2 separate regions of the Homo sapiens genome follow, and region 2 is linked to region 1. The links are contacts of gene promoters, found by promoter capture Hi-C in human tissues and cell types (Jung and others, 2019). All regions are on one chromosome and are shown on one strand. Each heading gives the region's core, a stretch centred on a gene start or on the middle of the fragment in contact. The rest is flanking DNA. Distances are from core to core; before and after follow the strand shown. Region 1 holds the start of DNAJC12 (DnaJ heat shock protein family (Hsp40) member C12). Region 2 overlaps CTNNA3 (catenin alpha 3).

The links. The method cuts DNA at HindIII sites, captures the fragments that hold promoters and counts their contacts. A contact is called where the count stands out against the background at its distance.
Region 2: a contact is called between a fragment that was not itself captured here and the fragment with the promoter of DNAJC12 in region 1, in 1 of the 25 tissues and cell types used here (dorsolateral prefrontal cortex).

Annotation. Positions count from the first base shown.
Region 1 is chr10:67,834,650-67,840,802 of GRCh38, forward strand. DNAJC12 (DnaJ heat shock protein family (Hsp40) member C12) reads right to left here and starts at 3,539. Exons shown (of 5, transcript NM_021800.3): 1 at 3,285-3,539. The coding sequence starts at 3,362. The HindIII fragment of the contact is 7,681 bases long and covers 2,500-6,153 here.
Region 2 is chr10:66,541,999-66,548,151 of GRCh38, forward strand. The region is part of intron 10 of CTNNA3 (catenin alpha 3); the gene reads right to left. Among named protein-coding and RNA genes, the nearest start is that of LRRTM3, 380 kb to the right of the region's middle. The HindIII fragment of the contact is 3,995 bases long and covers 971-4,965 here.

The DNA of each region.
Region 1 (6,153 bases), core at 2,289-4,788:
AAAGCTCATCTGTACAAAAATACAAAAATTAGCTGGGCATAGTGGCATGCACGTATAATCCCTGCTACTCAGGAGGCTGAAGCAGGAGAATCACTTGAACCCAGGAGGCTGCAGTGAGCTGAGATCCTGCCACTGCACTCCAGCCTGGGCAACACAGTGAGACTTCATCTCAAAGAAACAAAAATTTAAAAAAAAAATCCAATATAGGGAGAAAGGCTAACTGTCTTGGAATCAATCTTTGTTAAATTGTTTTGAAATGGGGAATATATTGTTTTCTATATAACATGGAAATCCTCCCATAATTTATATATGTCATTATGTAAACTAGAAAATTAGTCTCATTGCTTGTTTTCATGGTTGTATTTTCAATTTCTGAAAGATAATTTTAAAAACTCTCTGAGAAGGAAAAGCTTCAGGATTACTGCTCTAGAACCATTAGAAAATACATAATTTTACTTTAATCAATTTCTAGCACAAACTTTAAATTGTAAGAACTATATACCAAAGCAAAAGTATTATGTGGGTGTCTCAATTCAATTGTGATAAGTAAAATTAGAATATCAAATTGTTTTGAAATTATAACAGCTAAAATGCTTTCGGGCATGATGAGTTCTGGTTAATTTTAGAGCATCAAATGAAGGAATACCTGAAGTAAAGGCAATCTATCCAATACAAATCAAGTAAAGGAAATGTCATATTAGTCAAAAATGTCATAAAAATATTTTTGAAATGAGAAGCATACCTATAAAAAGAAGAGAAAAGCCAGGTGCGGTGGCTCACGTCTGTAATCCCAGTATTTTAGGAGGCCGAGGTAGGCAGATCACGAGGTCAAGAGATGAAGACCATCCTGGCCAACACGGTGAAACCCCGTCTCTACTAAAAATACAAAAATTAGCTAGGCATGGTGGCATGTGCCTGTAGTCCCAGCTACTCAGGAAGCTGAGGAAGGAGAATCACTTGAACCTGGGAGGCGGAGGTTGCAGTGACCTGAGATTGCACCACTGCACTCCAGCCCGGCAACAGAGTGAGACTCCATCTCAAAAAAACAAAAAAAAGAGAGAAAAAATGACACACACACACACACACACACACACACACATATATATAAAGAAGTGACAATATTATGACAAACATTTCATTAAAAATAAATAATTGTTATCTAGATATGATATGCCATTGACAGACCAGTAAAATACATCCAGTAAAAGGAATGTTGAGACAAGGAAGTATGACTCCACCTGGTAACCATATTTTGAATATTACACATTAACAACGAGATTATTTTCTGTAAGGCTGTCCAAAATGAATCCTCCTTCTATGTAGATTGAAAAGACAACAGCATAACTTCAAAAGACTGACTATGCAGCCATAAAAAAGAATGAGTTCATGTCCTTTGCAGGGACATGGATGAAGCTGGAAACCATCATTCTCAGCAAACTAACACAGGAACAGAAAACCAAACACCACATGTTCTCACTCATAAGTGGGAGATGAACAATGAGAGCACATGGACACAGGCAGGGGAACATCACACACCGGGGCCTGTCGGGGGGTGGGGGAGAAGGGGAGGGACAGCATTAGGACAAATACCTAATGTATGCGGGGCTTAAAACCTAGATGATGGGTTGATAGGTGCAGCAAACCACCCTGGCACATGTGTATCTATGTAACAAACCTGCACATTCTGCACAGGGATCCCAGAACTTAAAGTAAAATTGAAAAAAAAAAAAAAGGACTGACTAAATAGGTCACAAGATTATGGAGATATAATGACCCTTACTGTATAAGCTAGCATGTATTTTTTTAAATCCAAATTGTCAGCCTTATCAAGTTAAATTATATTCCTTTGATTTTAAATTATTCCTTCAAAAATTGTTTGATAATAGTATAATTTCAACTGTGAATAACACATGGTAAAAATGGTAATAAGCTTTCTCAATTGCTATAAGCAAATCACCACCAACATAAACAAGAATAACACATTCTTGAGAAGAAATATGCAACTAAAAGACCATTATAAGCTATTCTGGGGGCGGGGCAGTTTTTTTAATTTCAACGTGTCTAAGATAACTTCCTCAGCATGGCAAAAATAGAGATTTTAATCCTTTGTGTCCAGTAATGCATTCTATTCTTAAAACAAAACTAAGCACATTTTATTAATGAACTACTGCCTTTATGAAACAACAATAAATATAAAAACATTTTGCTTTACAATGTTAATTTTACTACTTAGATTTTAATAAAAATAAATAAAATAAAATACATTAATTATAAAACATAAATATATCCTAATAACATGATTTAATAATATATAATTTAATAATGAATATATTTTATATTAATCTCAACATTATTTGAAATATTGAAAAATTGGAAATAAAATATTTAACAATAAGAGAATAATTCAACTGTGGTAACACAGCAAAATAAAATATTTTGCAACCACTAAAAAGTGTACAAGGAAAGTTTAATAGCATGGAAAATTCCTTGTTATAATACGAATGGGTAAAAAGCAGGAATCAACAAGTACATATAATATCCTCCCAAACAGGTCTTTAAAGAATATACATAGAAAGAATAGTGGAGATTAATATGCCAAAATATTAATACTGTTATCCTTGGGAGAGAGAATTATAAATGATTTTTCCATAATTTAAAAAACCTCTACAACCTTTATAATTGTTTATTGAGAACTTTAAAAATTTTGTTTTCTTACAGATCCAGTGAACAGCTACAGAGTTTTCACATGTTTTGTTTCAGAAGCCACCCTTTCAAGAAGTAATTTCTGTCACACAATTTGAAATATTAACATAAAGGGATGCTTCTTTGTTTCTATTTTGACTGCTCACATAGGAGTACACATTTTAATAAAATATATTAAAATCCCTAATTTTATAAGAAATTTCATTTCACCTCAATTATGAGTCACCATAATAAAGGTATAGCTTATATATACTGTGAAACACTGCCATCAGAAATTACAATAAAATTTCAAATATTTATTTTTAATATACTATATTGTGAAACAGCATATGGCCATGTGCCAGAATACACATATTTAATCAGAAGCTTCCGTAAAATTCCCATAGGACACTATTCAAGTAAAATCCCAACATACATTTAAATTCTTAACTTTCTCTGAGCCAAAAGTGCTTTAAAACAACACAAGGTTAGGTTTGTAGGCAATGTGACTAAAAATTCAAAGTTAAAACCTTAAATAAAAACTTGAAATACTATTGTGAAAAAGAATACTGTTGTGATAAAAATATTATCCACTGTCTTACCGAAGATAGTTCATCACATCCCAGTAATGTGTAGTAATCTTCAGTATCTTCTGACCTGTAATTCAGTATTGCATCCATTTAGATGACTTAATCAGTCCTTCTTCCCTCGGAAACAAGAGGCACAGTGAGCTTCGAATTAACAGGAAGAAACTCTTTAAATCTGAATTAGAGCAGCATGTTCCACATAGCAAAAACTAGCTTTAAGACTGGCCACAGTCAATACACCAGATGTCATCCTAGACCTTTGTAAACTCTGCCTCTCATTGGCTGTTTACAGAGAAGAAAAGAACAGTCCACGTGTCTATTATTGCAGTGCTGCCTGGGATCTGTAGTTTGAGTTTATATAAGAGATGCATGTGAACCATTTGTCTTATGAGTTAATAAAGACTGTCTATTTTCAGAAACTTGCCACATTAGCCACTTCTCCATCTCCTATATATTTTTGTCTCTATCCTTTAAAAAAAAAAAAGAAAAAAAATGTGAAGCAATGTGGTAAAATCTTAGGATGTGTTAATAAGGATAATGGGAGCTTTTCTTAGTGTTTAAAATACTTAATTTTATTTTTTATTTGTTTATTTTCAGACAAGGTCTCACTCTGTTGCCCAGGCTGGAGTGCAGTGGTGCAGTCTCAGCTCACTGCAACCTCTGTCTCCCCAGCTCAAGCGATCCTCCCACCTCAGCCTCCCTAGTAGCTGGGACCACAGGCACATAGCACCATGTCCAGCTAATTTTTGGTTTTTGTTTTGTTATGTTTTAAGAGGAGGGGGTTTTGCCATGTTGCCCAGCCTGGTCTCGAACTCGTGAGCTCAAAGCGATCTGCCTGCTTCGGCCTCCCAACGTGCTGGGATTACAGGCATGATCCACAGCGCCCAGCCAATAACACAGTCTTGATTTTTATGGAGCTTACGCTCTGATGGAGGAAGACAGCTGAAAAACATGCAAAAAAAAAAAAAAAAAAAAAAAACACGATCATTTAAAATAGTGATTTGTAAGCCAGGCATGGTGGCCCACACCTGTAGTCCAGCTACTTGGGAGGCTGAGGCAGAAGAATCACTTGGACCCAGGAGGCAGAGGCTGTAGTGAGCCGAGATGGTGCCACTGCACTCCAGACTGCGCTACAGAGCAAGACTCCATCTCAAAAAATAAAAAAATAAAATAGTGATTTGTGCTTTAGAGAAAATAAAATAGGACAATGAGAAGAACTGTATGATAACTCGGGTCAGATGGCTGTGCTATTTCTCCTGGGTTGGTTCTCCAGACTCAGGAGTGTCTCTAGTCTGAGGTAGGTCCAGGCAATTTATGTTTCAGTTCATTTTGGCCCTAAGAAACACAGTTCAGGTCTGGGATTTAGAGAACAAGGTGAGTGGTCAGGGACACAACACTTTGACTGCCTTAACACTTTTTTTGTTTCATTTTTCAGAGAGACAGGGTCTCGCCATATTGCCCAGATTGGTCTTAAACCCCTGGACTCAAGTGATCCTCCCACTTTGGCCTCCCAAAGTGCTGCGATTACAGATGTGAGCCAACATGCCTGGCCCTTAACACTTTAAATTCCCCCACCTGAGGGGAAAAAATAGTTTTTCTTTTAGCCCACCTATATACATCTTTTTAAAGGTTTATTTCTGAAGAGAAGCAAGAAAAAGCACTGAAACACCATTTTTTACTAATCCTTCATTGTACATGCTGTCTTGCTAAAAGTTCTATATAGAATTTTAAGGCCAGGCACGGTGGCTCATGCCATAATCCCAGCACTGGGAGACCGAGGCGGGCGGATCACGAGGTCGGGGGTTCGAGACCAGCCTGACCAATGTGATGAAATCCTGTCTCTACTAAAAATACAAAAATTAGCCAAGCATGGTGGCACGCACCTGTAGTCCCAGCTACTCAGGATGCTGAGGCAGGAGAATTGCTTGAATCTGGGAGGCGGAGGTTGCAGCGAGCCGAGATCGTGCCACTGGACTCCAGCCTGGGTGACAGAGCCAGGGTCCATCTCAAAAAAAAAAAAAAAAATTAGATCACAATATCTTGATCTAAATCACTGATAAATGGCCTTTTAATGATGTGAAGTTGCCATGGTGGAAAGCAGTATGGTGGTTCCTCAAAAAATTAAACATAGAACTACCATGTGACCCCACAATTCCACTTCTGGGTAAATACACAAAAGAATTGAAAGCAGGAACTTGAAAAGATATTTATATACTCATGTTCATCAAGGCATTAGTCATAATAGCCAAAAAGTGGAGGCAATGCAAGTGTCCATCAACGGATGACTAAACAAATGGAATGTTAGGGCTGGGCATGGTGGCTCACACCTGTAATCCCAGAACTTTGGGAGGCCGAGGCAGGCAGATCACTTGAGGCCAGGAGTTCGAAACCAGCCTGGCCAACATGGCAAAACTTCATCTCTACTGAAAATACAAAAAAGTTAGCTGGGTGTGGTGGCACATGCCTGTAATTTCAGCTACTTGGGAGGCTGAGGCACGAGAATTGCTTGAACCCAGGAGGTGGAGGCTGCAATGAGCTGAGATCACACCACTGCACTCCAGCCTGGGTGACAGAGCACGACCTTGTCTAACACAAACAAACAAAAAAGTGTGGTATTGGCCAGTTGCAGTGGCTTATGCCTGTAATCCCAGCACTTTGAGAGACCAAGGCAGGAGGATTGTTTGAGCCCAGGAGTTCAAAACCAGCCTGCGCAACATAGTGAGACTCTGTCCTTATTTTTATATTAATAATATAATTTTTTTTTTGAGACAGAGTTTCACTCTTGTTGCCCAGGCTGGAGTGCAATGGTGTGATCTTGGCTCACCGCAACCTCCACCTGGGTTCAAGTGATTCTCCTGCCTCAGCCTCCTGAGTAGCTGGGATT
Region 2 (6,153 bases), core at 1,718-4,217, 1.3 Mb before region 1:
AGCTAATATCCAGAATCCACAAAGAGCTCAAACAAATTTACAAGAAAAAAACAAACAACCCCATCAAAAAATGGGCAAAGGACATGAACAGACACTTCTCAAAAGAAGACATTTATGCAGCCAAAAGACACATGAAAAAATGCTCATCATCACTGGCCATGAGAGAAATGCAAATCAAAACCACAATGAGATACCATCTCACACCAGTTAGAATGGCAATCATTAAAAAATCAGGAAACAACAGGTGCTGGAGAGGATGTGGAGAAATAGGAACACTTTTACACTGTTGGTGGGACTGTAAACTAGTTCAACCATTGTGGAAGACAGTGTGGTGATTCCTCAGGGGTCTAGAACTAGAAATACCATTTGACCCAGCCATCCCATTACTGGGTATATACCCAAAGGAATATAAATCATGCTGCTGTAAAGACGCATCCACACATATGTTTATTGTGGCACTACTCACAATAGCAAAGACTTGGAACCAACCCAAATGTCCAACAATGATAGACTGGATTAAGAAAATGTGGCACATATACACCATGGAATACAATGCAGCCATAAAAATGATGAGTTCATGTCCTTTGTATGGACATGGATGAAGCTGGAAACCATCATTCTCAGCAAACTATCACAAGGACAAAAAACCAAACACCGCATGTTCTCACTCATAGGTGGGAATTGAACAATGAGAACACTTGGACACAGGAAGGGGAACATCACACATCAGGGCCTGTTGTGGGGTTGGGGGAGGGGGGAGGGATAGCATTAGGAGATATACCTAATGTAAATGATGAGTTAATGGGTGCAGCACACCAACATGGCACATGTATACATATGTAACAAGCCTGCACGTTGTGCACATGTACCCTAGAACTTAAAGTATAATAAAAATATATACATTAAAAAAATAAAATAAAACTTGAAATTTGCAGACTTTAAAATAGAAATTCTACTTTTAGAAATGTATTCTAATGAAATAACTAAGGTAAACATTGAAATTTAGCTTAAAAAGGCTACAGTATTTTTTAATAAATAAACACCATATAGTAAATTACCAAAATGTATATCCACTAAGTAAGTTAGAGTGCAGAATTTTGTTTGTTTGTTTGTTTTTTCTTGCTGTGCTGCCCAGGCTAGAGTTCAATGGCGCAATCTCGGCTCACTGCAATCAATCCCTGCCTCCCAGGTTCAAGCAATTCTCCTGTCTCAGCCTCCCGAGTAGCTGGGATTACAGGTCTCTGCCACTGAGCCCGGCTAATTTTTGTATTTTTAGAAGAGACAGGTTTCACCATCTTGGCCAGGCTGGTCTCAAACTCCTGACCTCGTGATCCACCCACCTCAGCCTCCCAAAGTGCTGGGATTACAGGCGTGAGCTACTGCACCCGCCCAGAATGCAGGTTTTTAATAAAATGCTATGCAGCCATGAAAAATTACATTAAACAATATTTAATAACATGGAAAGGGGTTTAAGTTATTTTAAGTGAAGAAAAAAATAAATTAAAAATATATGTGATACATTTTATAGAGACAACTACCTACACAGAAGAAGCTGAAAGGTTATACACCAAATATTATTCATCATGATTTCTGGTAGAGAAATTACAAGAAATTTCTACTTTAAAATTTTTGTATTTTTTAATGAATTACATTTCTAAAGATAGTAGAAAAAATGAAGCTCTCTTAGAGCTGATTCAAAATCTTTCCTATTAGAACCTCTGTTCATCTCTGAATCTTATTTCAATTATAAGGAAAGCTGTGAATAGCTTGTAACAACATCCAATTCACCATTGTGAGTTAATTTTTTAAAGTTTCTTCTCCCACTGTATATGGTGAAATAGGTGAATGTATTAAAATTGCTAAATTTTGCTTTTTCTGAATTTAGCTAATCCTTCTTGAGATGTGTGTGTGTGTATATATATATATATATATATATATATATATATATATATATATTTGTTCTTCAGCATTTTTCTTTATTTTATTCTATCTCCTTTTGAGCTAAATGGATGACCTATCTGCCAGCTCCATTAGTAATTTTATTTACTGCTTCAGCCTTTGAAACAAGTTAATGCAGAAGATTGAATAGTATTTTAGAATTTACTTCACACAGTAATGTGACTCAAGGCTTCATTGGCTATTATGTCCCCTTTGGCATTAAATATTTTAATCTGCTAACTATGACAGATACAGGATGGCCAATTTCCCAGTAAATGTATTAGCCTCCTAGTAAATTACCCTTTCCCACCTTATACCATGCAGCCTATTAACCTATAAAATCCCTTCTCTTCCAATATAGGCAAGATGTCTTAACTGAAGACTTAATGTTGAACACATCCTAAAGCTTGAGAAGACCTTATTTCAGAGGGTTGGGAAAGGAAAACTAATCATTGCAAGCAAACTTTAAGTTGCTGAGACTACAGATGTCACTTTGGTTCATTTCCTATTACCATCGTTTGATGAGGATATAGCCCAAAAACCAAGCTAGATGAGTATTTTAATAAATGTGGACTGAGATTGCTTTAACAGAAAATATAAGAAATTTCTGTGTTTTTAGTAATATATCCTAGGTTCAAATTAATAAATCTCTTGATTATTCTGTGCCTTAAACTTGTATGACCATCTAGTCGTACCATTTGAGCAAATAAGTTACCACCTCAGGAAAAATGAAGTCAGCACTCAATTTATATCTATAGGATAATTGTGTTTTGTTTTGCTTTTATCTTAAGCCCACACTCTAGTAAACAAAAGCTATCAGAAGAAAGCTTTGTAAAATATTACAGATTGTGTTGTTAAATAATACTAAGAACTTTCTTGCATTTCATGGAAAAGATAATGCATATTGTGTACTTTTCATTATTTTAAATGTGTCTAGGACCAAATAAACCAACGGTGTTCTCTGTCCTTCTACTGGTTTGGGAAAAGATTTATGTAACAAACCATTATCTTCTAGTTAGAAATCATGAAAGATGAGGACTGTTGTTCCTGTAATTAATCACCCTATAGTAGAACTCTCTCACAGTGACTTAACAAAATACACTTATGTATGAATCTTAAATATGCAGAAGGAATACTAAAGTTGAACGGGTAGGATATTTTATCTTCTTTTAAGCTTTCATATGGTTAAATAAAACAAAAATTAAAAGTCTATAAAACAGAATGTATAGCTTTACAAATAATTATAACCAATACCCAAGTTGTGGAAAAGAATATTATCATAAATTACACACCCTTATATGCTAATTTTTCTTTTTAATGTTACCGCATAAACGTCCCTTTCTAAACAGTATAATTTTATTTCTTTCTGAAATTTACAAAAACAGCAGCTTTATTTCTTGCTTATTTTAGTCAATACTACACTTGTGAGATTCATCCAGATTGCTATATGTACCTATAAATCATTTATTTTGTTGTTCCTTTTTTCATTATATAAATATAACACAAATCCATTCTACTGTCAAACATTTGGATTGCTTCTAGGAAATTACAATTAATGCTGCTATTAATATTTTCTCATTCCTATATGCATCAGTGTCTTCAGATTATGTGTCTGGGAGTGGAATGGTTGGGTCACAGAGTGTATTAACTTTTCATTTCAGAAGACAATGCTAAACATGTTTCTAAGGTGTCCATACTGATGTAGTCTCCCAGCAACATATGAGTATTTTTGATATTTCACATCTTCACCACTTGATATTGTCAATCTTTTAAATTATAGCCATTCTGGAGAGAATACAGTTGTGTTTTTTATTCGGAGTTACCAATAACTAAAGAGATTATTCTGTTTTCTATATGTTCATTAGATATTTGGGTTTTGTCATTTGTTATTAGTATATTTAAGTCACTTGCCCATTCCCAAGTGGTTAGCTTCTGTCTTTGTATATTTTGTATATCTATATCTACAAACATATACGTATGTTTTATCTACATAAAATTATGTATGTACATTATATATTATATATTTAAATATAATATATTTATCTTCTGGATATAAACTCATTGTCAGTTAAGTATTTTGCAAATATATTTTTCCATGTGAAGGCTTATACTTTCACTCTCTTATGGATGTATTTTGATAAACACAGGTCCTTAGTTTTCATGCAGTATAATTATCTCCTGTTTATTTTTATGTTTACTACTCTTATTTCCTATTAAAACTTTTTCATATCCCAAGCTTATGAAGATATTCTACACTATCTTCTAAAAACATATGTTTTTGCTTTCACTTTTAAGTTACTAATCCACATGGAATTGGTTTACATGAAAGATATGAGGGAGAACTCAAATTTCATTTACTTTCACATGCATGTAATTGTCACAGCATCATTTACTGAAAAGAATATATTTTCCCCACTTTTGTAGCATCAAATCATCATCATAATAATCATAATAATAAATGTATATTTCTGTATTTTTATTCCATTTGTTTATCCTTGATTCAGTACAACATGGTTGGATCAGTCTGTTTTCATACTGGTATAAATAACTGCCCAAGACTGGGTAATTTATAAAGGAAAGAGGTTTAATTGACTCACTGTTTAGCATGGTTGGGGAAGCCTCGAGAAACTTACAAATATGGTGGAAGGTGAAGGGGAAGCAAGGCACCTTCTTCACAAGGCATCAGGCGGTAGATGTGAGTAAGTGAAAGCAGGGGAAATGCCAGATGCTTATAAAACCATCAGATCTTGTGAAATCACTCACTATCATGAGGACAGCATGGGGGAAGCCACCCTCATGATACAATTACCTCTACCTGGTCCCACTCTTGACACGTGGAAATTATGGGGATCATGGGGATTACAATTCAACATGAGATTTTGGGTGGGGACACAGCCAAACCATAGTCATGGTCTTAATTACTTTATTTTTATCAGATTTGATATGTCCCATGGAGTAATTCCTTCCATGTTACACTTTGTTTCTGTCAGAGTAGATTATACTGCAATAACAAAGAATTTTAAATTGCAGTGACTTATAACAACAGAGCTTTTTGTTTTGTTTTTCTTGCTCTCTCTAGTTGTCCATTTTGGGTTGTCTGGAGAATATACTTGATTTCTTCTAATTCTGGAGCCCACACTGATTGAACAGCTACTCTCTTGCACATATTGCTAATTACCTTAGCAGAAGGAAGTAGATAGAGTGTGGTGAATTATTAATTGGCTCTTAAATCTTCTAGCCAGGAGTCACAAATGTCACTTTCACATTTCATTAACAAAACACGTCACACGACCACTCATCACCTCAACCAAGAGGAGAAAATAAAATATTGGATAGACAGCACTAATGATTAACCTAATCTTTTAAATGAGTATATAACTTATTCTTGTTCCTTTGATTTTTCTTTCTTTCTTTTTTTTTTTTTTGAGATAGAGTCTGCTCTGTTGCCCAGGCTGGAGTCCAGTGGCCCATTCTTGGCTCACTGCAAGCTCCACCTCCCGGGTTGATGCCATTCTCCTGCCTCAGCCTCCCAAGTAGCTGGGACTACAGGCGCCCGCCACCACGCCCAGTTAATTTTTTGTATTTTTAGTAGAGACGGGGTTTCACCATGTTAGCCAGGATGGTCTCGATCTCCTGACCTCGTAATCCACCCTCCTCGGCCTCCCAAAGTGCTGGGATTACAGGCATGAGCCACTGCACCCAGCCTGATTTTTCTATATGAAACTTCTTATTAATTTGTGAAGTTCATAAATAAATATTTTAAAGATTTTGGTTGGTATTGCATTAAATTTATAGGTCAGCCTAAGGTTATTTGCAAGCTTTAAAATATTTGGTCTTACAATCCATAAACATGACCATAGTTAGATTGAGAAATACAGATATAGATTTCGGTCTTCACACATGTTTCTTTCAATTATGATTTTTGGTTTTCTGCATACAGGTCTTGCATAACTTTTTGTTACATCATTTCTTAGTATCTGATTTTTTTTTTTTTTTAAGATGGAGTTTCACTCTTGTTGCTCAGGCTGGAGTGCAATGGTGCAATCTTGGCTCACCACAACCTCCACCTCCTAGGTTCAAGTGATTCTCCTGCCTCAGCCTCCCCAGTAGTTGGGATTACAGGCATGTGCCACCATGTCCGGCTCCCATTTTGTATTTTTAGTAGAGATGGGGTTTCTCCATGTTGGTCAGGCTGGTCTCAAACTCCGAACCTCA